3 separate regions of the Homo sapiens genome follow, and regions 2 and 3 are each linked to region 1. Evidence: promoter capture Hi-C in 16 types of primary human blood cells and fetal thymus (Javierre and others, 2016). All regions are on one chromosome and are shown on one strand. Each heading gives the region's core, a stretch centred on a gene start or on the middle of the fragment in contact. The rest is flanking DNA. Distances are from core to core; before and after follow the strand shown. Region 1 holds the start of TTC17 (tetratricopeptide repeat domain 17). Region 2 overlaps TAF1D (TATA-box binding protein associated factor, RNA polymerase I subunit D). Region 3 holds the start of RPL27A (ribosomal protein L27a).

Region 1 (2,621 bases), core at 40-2,539:
CTATATTGCACACTGCCCAATGGTTACATTTCCATACCCAGAGACTATCAGAGTACCAGGCAAAAAGCAAATAAGCCATATATTTTTAATGAAATGAATGTTCAGTCTTCAGGCCTTTAAGAAAAGCTGTTCCTGGAATGAAGAAAAAAAAAACACCAATGCTGTGGTTGTTTCTACATTTCTATAGCGTGGTGTTTAAACACTTAGCAACTGCTCTCCTGCATACACTTGTGTAGAGAAGTGGTTAAACAATATTCTCATCCTTCTTTTCCCAAGGAGAAAACCAAAAGCATACCAACCTTAAATAACACACACAGAGGGCAATCTTGAAAGACCTAAAATGACATATCTAGCAAGAAGCTGGCAGCCAAGCTTGACGCCTGCCTGCCTGCCTGTTGGTTCACTAGAAGAAAGTGGTTCTCAAACTTTAATATGTATACCAGTCACCTGAGGCTATTGTTAAAATGTAGTCTGATTCAGCAGGTTGCGGGGGAGAGGGAGAAGAGCCGAGAATGTGCAGGTCTAAAAAGCTCCCAGGTGATGCCAATGTTTCTGGTCTCCAGACCTAGACCTCTAGCTTAGACCTGTGCTGACCAGTACGTTAGCCACATGCGGGTATTAAGCCCCTGAAATATGACTAGATAAGCTGTCAGTGTAACATGCCGATTTCCAAGACTTAGTTAAAAAAAAAAAAACTAAACTATCTCAATGATTTGTACAGACCACATTGAATTAATATTTTGTGTACTTTGAGTTAAATAAAATGTACTAGTAGGGTTACTTCCCTCTATATTTTACATTCCACACGTGGCTCGCATTATAGTGCTACTGGACAGCGGTGCCCTAAACTAACAACCGTCTCCATTCTGAAGCTTCCACTATTGTGAGACTTTAAGAATAAAAGCAACACCTCTCTTCCCATAGGTGGTTCGAAAGCACACCTTTTGTTCCCCAACTATCTACCAGAAATAAAACGAAAAAACAAAGATTTAAAAAACAATAAAATTGAGTCCTTTCACTTCTGCTTAAGCGCCACCTAAGCCACTGCTTTTGTCTCCCTCCGGTTCCCACGCTCCGAGATCGTATCACCCACAGAAAAACAATAACTAAAAAGCGGTCTCCATCCCTGAAGCCAAGCTGGGAGAGTAGCCGAAGGTCGCGCTTCCTGGCCGCCAAAACCGAGGTGGAGGAAACTTGGTAGTCAGCGAGCTACGCCCTCTCGGCTCCTCCTCCTGCTCCTCCTCCAGGGCCGACCTCTTCAAGATGGCGGGCGCCGGAGACTAGCTTCCGCTTCCGGTGTGAGCGGCCCGGCCGGGGGGGCAAGATGGCGGCGGCAGTAGGGGTTCGTGGCCGGTACGAGCTGCCGCCTTGCTCCGGCCCAGGCTGGCTCCTCAGCCTTTCCGCCTTGCTGAGTGTGGCGGCACGAGGGGCCTTCGCCACCACGCACTGGGTCGTCACGGAGGACGGGAAAATCCAGCAGCAGGTAGCGGCCGGGGCGTCCCTCTTCTCCCGTGCCCGCCCTCGCCCCGGGGGGATTACCCTGCTTGGCCCCTGGCTGTTGGGCTCCGCGCGGCCCCGCCCCCAGCCTACCCTCACAGGGAGGTGGCACCGCGACCTCGGACTCCCTGCATTCGGACCAGGCAGGCACTTCCCGCTCCCCACTTGTCTCCTGGTCCTCGTTTGGCCCCCTAGAAGTTCTCACCCTTCCACCTCGCGGGCCGCGCGCCGCGTGGGGAAGAGTCGCCCAGCTGCGGGAGACGGGCCCTACGGACCTTTTTTTAGCTCGGGGTTTAGAAATCACAGATTTCAGGATTCCTGCCTTTGGTGCCTCTCGGGTTCACGCGTCACCGGCCCTCCCCGAGGAAATAGAAAGCAGGTGGCAGCTCCAGGGTGTGCGCGAGTCCCATGGTATGACAGCTTCTGGACCCCTAGCCTGTGGACCATTCGTGCTGCTCCCCTAGTCTCGTCTACCACATGGTGGATTTCGTTTCTGGTTGTGTTGGTTTCAGCTTGTACCGTTACTCAGGTCAGCAGTGGCTCATTAGAAACAACATAGAAACACTCCCCTTCAGAAGGAATGCTTGAAGATGCCGCTGGTGGCGTTGCCTGCATCTTTTCAGCTGTTACTGCCCTCGTTTCCCAGTGCACTTTGCTTTGTTTCTTTACCTAGTTCTTGTGACCCAGCCTCGCATGGAGGATATGCGATTTCCTGGATTCTTGTATGCCTGAACTAATTCCTCAGAGGCGAGACTGCTTTTCTTATATAACTTTATGATTGCCTGCGTTTTGTAAATGCTGCTGATGCCTAACGAGTGCGTGTGTGTGTTCCGCTACAGAATATTGGTAAACTTACTGACTTCGAACACTTGAGGACAATCTTGAAGTGTCTAGCAAACATTTAGAAAGTGAATTGTGTGCCCCATGCAATTTAGCCCACTGATCTAAAACGTTTTAACTAGTGTGGTGGGAAATTACTGGTCCTTTGGATTGTGTGTAATGAATCATGATAGGAACACATTCCAACGTTTAAGGTGAGGTTTAGATTTAGATTTGCCGTGTAATGTAATTGCAAATTCTATCTCAAGTAAGTTAAGTATAACTAAAAATCCGCCTAGGTATTC
Region 2 (2,621 bases), core at 41-2,540, about 50 Mb after region 1:
AGTCAAAGGAAACACAAAATTTGAGAATTTTGTGTTCTGGAGAATTCTAGATGAACGGTGTGCCAAGCTTGGCTCAACTGTAATAATCCCAATTGTCATACTCTGTATCTTTGTTCATTATTTAAGTATAACTATATTAAAGGCAAAATATGAAGCAATTAACATAGAAATTTAATTTATAACCTATTACCAAAGTATTTCATATGATTCCACTTACGTTGACTCCTCAATAGGAGAAATGGATCCATCATCATCCAAAAATTTGTATCTACGACTGTCAAAATCTTCATTTTCTAAATCTTCACCAACATTCATTTGCTTCAATGATTCTTTCAGGTGGTGTTCATACTTCAGTTTTTCAATATAGTTAAAAAATCCTCTTGCAACAGCTTGCTATATATTAAAAACACCATAAGTATGTCGAGATTTTATTTTTAAGACCCAGCAGGTGCCTATGTTCAAAAAGGGCAATGCCCCCCCTTAGCAAAGACTCTGAATTTGCTATCTTAACTACTCCCCACTTGTGGACTTATCAAATGCTGATTATTAAAATTCACATTACAATTATGAATTTACCTAAGCTGGTAACATGGAAAAGTGAAGTACATATCTTGTCATGTCTGGGACTTACTAAAGGCATTTTAAAATGTAAAAACAGGAATAAGATTTCTAATGTTTACTATAATCACCTTAAACTTAAGAGATTAACTGAAGAGATTAACATGTATTAATCCTCCCAAATAAAATTTCAGGTTCTGGCAAGGGATCATAAATTAATTCTGAATTCATTCAACATACAACTCTCAAATATTTAAAAAAGTCTACTCCTAAGTATTAGCGTATTTTTCAGATAATTGGCTTAGAAACATCTAGGCCTTAAGAATATATCCACTGAACATAAGGCATGTGTGGTTTTAGTTTAGGTTACTGCAAAAGTAATTTCAAGTTATGTGAGCTTTTATTATCCCCACTGAGTTTTAGGGTTGTGTTTAAAGACCTGAGATGGGATAAGATCAAAGGATTTTATACAAAGAGCCTTGGAGCACTATCTTTTAAATATGGCAAAGTGTAGTTATATTAAGAGATACAAGTCAAGATTCAGTTGAAGGATAGGGTGGACTTTAGGGGTAAGTCAGTATAGAAGAGTATCAAAATTGCAGACAGTCTGTTCCCAGTATATCTGAGACAATTCTAAATTGGCCAACAAATCATTTTGGGCATCTTGAGTTATGTGTAGCCATGTATGTAAAATGCTGACTCACCTCAAACGTTAAAATTTTTCTCCAAGGTGCGTTTTTTTCATTCTCTGATTCTAAAAATGGGAAGCCAGATCCTCTGCTTCTAAATTGTTTCTTCTTATCTATTAGTGAGTATATAGGATTTCTCCTTCCTTCTGGTCTTCCCCGTGGTCTTCCTGTTGGCTGGTACCTCCTCTTTTTCTTTTTTTTATATCTCTTTTTCCTGTTCTTGAATCTTTCAAAAATAGCTTTTATAGTCAATGGTATTGGTTCAAAAGATGAGTCACTTGATGAATCACTTGCGTGAACACTTTCAGGTGTACGAACAAATTTTCGAATGGGGTTTCTTTTCTCCCCTTTAGGTGAGTAAGGGATACACTGAGTTTTAAATAAGCTGCTATCAGAAGAGTTATCACTAGAAAAATGGGAAAAAAATTAATTTCATCTTCTTTTCTTACTGCTTATTACCATTAATACCCAGTCCTAAATGTACATTTCTTCCAAGACCAACTCAGAAAACATGCCCAGAATTAAAAATTTTTTAAAGGATGGGCTCAGAACCAGCTAGCCTTTCTACTGATCATCCTATTTAAATAGCCCATAATGCTACAGCTCTTATTAAAGAGTTTTGTAGACATCGTCTTGCTGTCACCCAGACTGGAGTGCAGTGGTGCAATCACAGCTCACTGCAACCTCAAACTCCTGGAAACTCCAGGGATGCTCCTGCCTCAGCCTCCCAAGTAGCTAGCTAGGACTAATGGCATGCACCACTATGCTCAGCTTACAAAAAAACTGTATCTTTCAAGACAATGTATGAGCTCCAAAAGGCTGTATGGTTCGGTTCACTGCTAAGAGTGTCTGAGTAAAACAAACACAGCCTACCGAACCGGAGGATGTAGTCTGGAAGAGATGCTAATATGACCCAAAGAATACATTTTTTCTCGACGAATGTGTCCCATAATATATTCACATTTTGAATTTAAAGTATTTGCAATGCTATTATATCAATCTATGTAACTAGATAAACTTGGAAGGTCAGTGAAATCTAGTTTTCCTTCTTTCCCAATTCCTGAAAATTATCTTTACTGTCACTCATTATATACAATAGTTTCTCATAATTCAGATACAATAAACATGATTGAATCCACTCACCTTCGATTTGCAAGTTCCACAGCATCAGATGTCACATGGTCAAGAGAATCTATTCCTGATTTATCCATCAATTGCTCTTTGTTTTAAACAGTTTTCTGAAATTATGAAATTTAGTAAATATGACAAAGCTTCCCTAAATATTGACAGTATCTACTACAGTGTTGAACGTGGTCAGACTATGCCAATGATTTCAGGCGAAATCATTTACCAAGGTTAAGCTTCTTATCCATT
Region 3 (2,621 bases), core at 122-2,621, about 35 Mb before region 1:
CCACGCCCGGCCAGAATTTTGGATATTTTAGCTAAAATATATTTTAGCTGAAGGGGGCAAGACAAAGAAAAATAAATAAATACACGCTCACACATACACACAGAGAATAACTGAGGGGATGGGATTTTAAAAATTTATTTCATTTTTCCCATGGGATCTATTAATAGACTAGCGAGGGGATGGGATCTTGAACACTGGTTGAAGGAACCGACTTAAGAGCGAAGACATGCTGCTATTAGCGAAGACAGGGAGGTGAGGGTAAGTTCATTTATTCACTCAACAATCACTAGTTGAGTGTGGATTAAAAAAAACAGTCCTTGACCACATAAGGAATTAGGTCTAGTAGGGAAGACAAACGTAGGTCAATAAATTACATAAGGGTTATACTAGATTGTGTGGTGGTACAGGTGGGGAAGCGAGCAACTGTCTGCATTGTGTCCAGGAAAGGGTCACAGGCGTGTTATGTAGATTCTGGAGAAAATTCAAAAATAGCATTTATTTTTACTTATTTACTTTTGTATGTGGAGACGAGGGTCTCACTATGTTGCCCAGGCTGGTGTTGAACTACTCGCCTCAAGAAATCCTCCCGCCTCGACCTCCCAAAGTGTTGGGACTACAGGTGTGAGCCACCGCGCCTGGCCTAAATGTGGCATTTAGAAAAAGTATTTACAACATCTGCATTAAAAGGACCATAAAGCAACCAGGCATCTAAGTCCCTGAAGCAATTTAAGTTGCTCAAACTTGAGAGGACAACCAAATGATAGCAAAAGGGCAAAAGAGAAAGGAAGCTGCAGTGCCCACTCAGAAGTGTGAGAGCGGGAGAAGGCATTTCGGGAGCCGCCCGAGCTTCAGGAAACCGAGCGAGACACCAGGTGGGCACACTGAGGATTAAAGAGGGCCTCGCGGTTCCGCACTGCGGCCGGGAGACAAACCAGTAGCCACTATCACCAGCCCCGGGCAGACCACTAAGAACTGTGGAGGTGCGCGGGGCGGCTCAGGGCTGGCGCATTTGGTGAGGAGCTCAGACAACGAGGCCCTTAGGGTCGGCTTAGGCGGTTCCCTGACCAAGGCGCCAGAAAAGGGCCTGGCTCAAGCAAGCACGGGCGGCGTGCAGTACAGCACACCTAGCCCCGATTCTTCAACAGTTCTCGCCCTCCGAGCCTAGCACAACGAGCCTCACCGAAACCGTACACCGCCACCAGGACACTCCGTGATGGGGGATCACCACCCTCAGAAAGAGGAAGCGACTAGCAGGCGCGCAATCCCGCGAGACCAGGAGGCCCCGCCCGAAGCCCGGCCTCTGTGACCGGAAGTGAGGCGTTTTGCCCCGCCCCCGTGGCCGATACCTCGCGAGACTTGGCGAAGGCCTTCCTTTTTCGTCTGGGCTGCCAACATGGTAGGTGTTTCGTTTCTTGCCTCCTCTTCCTTGCCGGCGGAGACCCCTAAGCTGTATTCCCATTGCCCCTAGTCATCCACTCCCTACCATGGTCGGGGCTTCCAGGCTGCGCATGGCCGCCTGCGGGGCAGGGTGGCCGGCGCGGGCCCGGGGCGGGGCTCCCGGAGCCGTGTGTTAGGCCCGCGGTTCGGATCTCTAGGACACGCGGGCCCCTGCGCTACCGTGGTGAGACCTCACGGCCCTGAGCGGATCGGTACCCTCAGCTTTCCCAAACGCTCCAGAAGTTAGGTCTTTGACCCACAGGCTTACAGGACCATCTCGGCTGGCGGGCATCGCCCCCTGCCCCTAATTCCTTAGGCCTTACCACCAAGCTTTTTCCACACAGCCATCCAGACTGAGGAAGACCCGGAAACTTAGGGGCCACGTGAGCCACGGCCACGGCCGCATAGGTAAGTGCCGGCTTCCCCTCGGGGTGGGCCTTGGGCTCTCTTCGGGTGCTTAGCTAGTCTGGAGATCGGTAGCCTATAAGTGGGTTAGAATAAGACCTTTTTGTGGTCAAGTTGCACAGCTGTTGATTTTTTTCTGACGATCCTCTAGTATTCCAGTTCTAAGGAATTTCACATCAGTGGGGTAATAGGAATTGAGCAGGCACGGTATTGGGTTAGTTGAAGACATGGAGTACTGTGGGAATGCTGTGATGTGGAACCTGAAAAGATGTTTCACCCGGAATCCTAAAGTAATCGCATTGCTGAAAACCGGCATCGGTAGGGTGGGAACAGCGTAAGCGGGACACAGAAGTCTGGGAAACACTCTGCTTTTGTGCGAGGAAGTATTGAGATGCATGAGAAGGCTGTGTGGTGCATGTAGCTTTTTTGTGTGTGTGTGAGACTGATCACTGTCGCCCAGGCTGGAGTGCAGTGGCGAAATCTCGGCTCACTGCAACCCCTGCCTGCCGGGCTCAAGCGATTCTCCTGCCTCAGCCTCCCGAGTAGCTGATATTACAGGTGTGCGCCACGACGCCCGGCTAATTCTTTTTCTATTTTTAGTAGAGTCGGGGGTTTCTCCGTGTTGGCCAGGCTGGTCTCGAACTCCTGACCTCAGGTGATCTACCCCCCCTCGTCCTCCTAAAATGCTGGGATTACAGGCATGAGCCATCACACCGGCCCCACGTAGCTTTGTATTCCTGCAGGCAAGCACCGGAAGCACCCCGGCGGCCGCGGTAATG

The links. The method cuts DNA at HindIII sites, captures the fragments that hold promoters and counts their contacts. A CHiCAGO score of 5 or more calls a contact.
Region 2: a fragment that was not itself captured here is called in contact with the fragment with the promoter of TTC17 in region 1 in 1 of 17 cell types (activated CD4 T cells); the score reaches 12.4 in activated CD4 T cells.
Region 3: a contact is called between the fragment with the promoter of RPL27A here and the fragment with the promoter of TTC17 in region 1, in 1 of 17 cell types (non-activated CD4 T cells). The highest score is 5.7, in non-activated CD4 T cells.

The regions. Positions count from the first base shown.
Region 1 is chr11:43,357,631-43,360,251 of GRCh38, forward strand. TTC17 (tetratricopeptide repeat domain 17) reads left to right here and starts at 1,290. Exons shown (of 24, transcript NM_018259.6): 1 at 1,290-1,483. The coding sequence starts at 1,325. RefSeq lists an enhancer at 1,149-1,418 and a silencer at 1,549-1,628. The HindIII fragment of the contact is 2,829 bases long and covers 871-2,621 here.
Region 2 is chr11:93,736,847-93,739,467 of GRCh38, forward strand. It overlaps TAF1D (TATA-box binding protein associated factor, RNA polymerase I subunit D), which reads right to left. Exons shown (of 6, transcript NM_024116.4): 2 at 2,391-2,485; 3 at 1,263-1,653; 4 at 218-393. The coding sequence starts at 2,458. Among named protein-coding and RNA genes, the nearest start is that of SNORA40, 2.9 kb to the left of the region's middle. RefSeq lists an enhancer at 1,072-2,271. The HindIII fragment of the contact is 2,451 bases long and covers 66-2,516 here.
Region 3 is chr11:8,681,421-8,684,041 of GRCh38, forward strand. RPL27A (ribosomal protein L27a) reads left to right here and starts at 1,372. Exons shown (of 5, transcript NM_000990.5): 1 at 1,372-1,396; 2 at 1,782-1,845; 3 at 2,586-2,621. The coding sequence starts at 1,394. It overlaps TRIM66 (tripartite motif containing 66), which reads right to left and starts at 1,245. Exons shown (of 25, transcript NM_001388022.1): 1 at 1,181-1,245. RefSeq lists enhancers at 802-2,001, 865-934, 1,135-1,324, 1,651-2,293 and a silencer at 1,445-1,644. The HindIII fragment of the contact is 2,972 bases long and covers 1-1,765 here.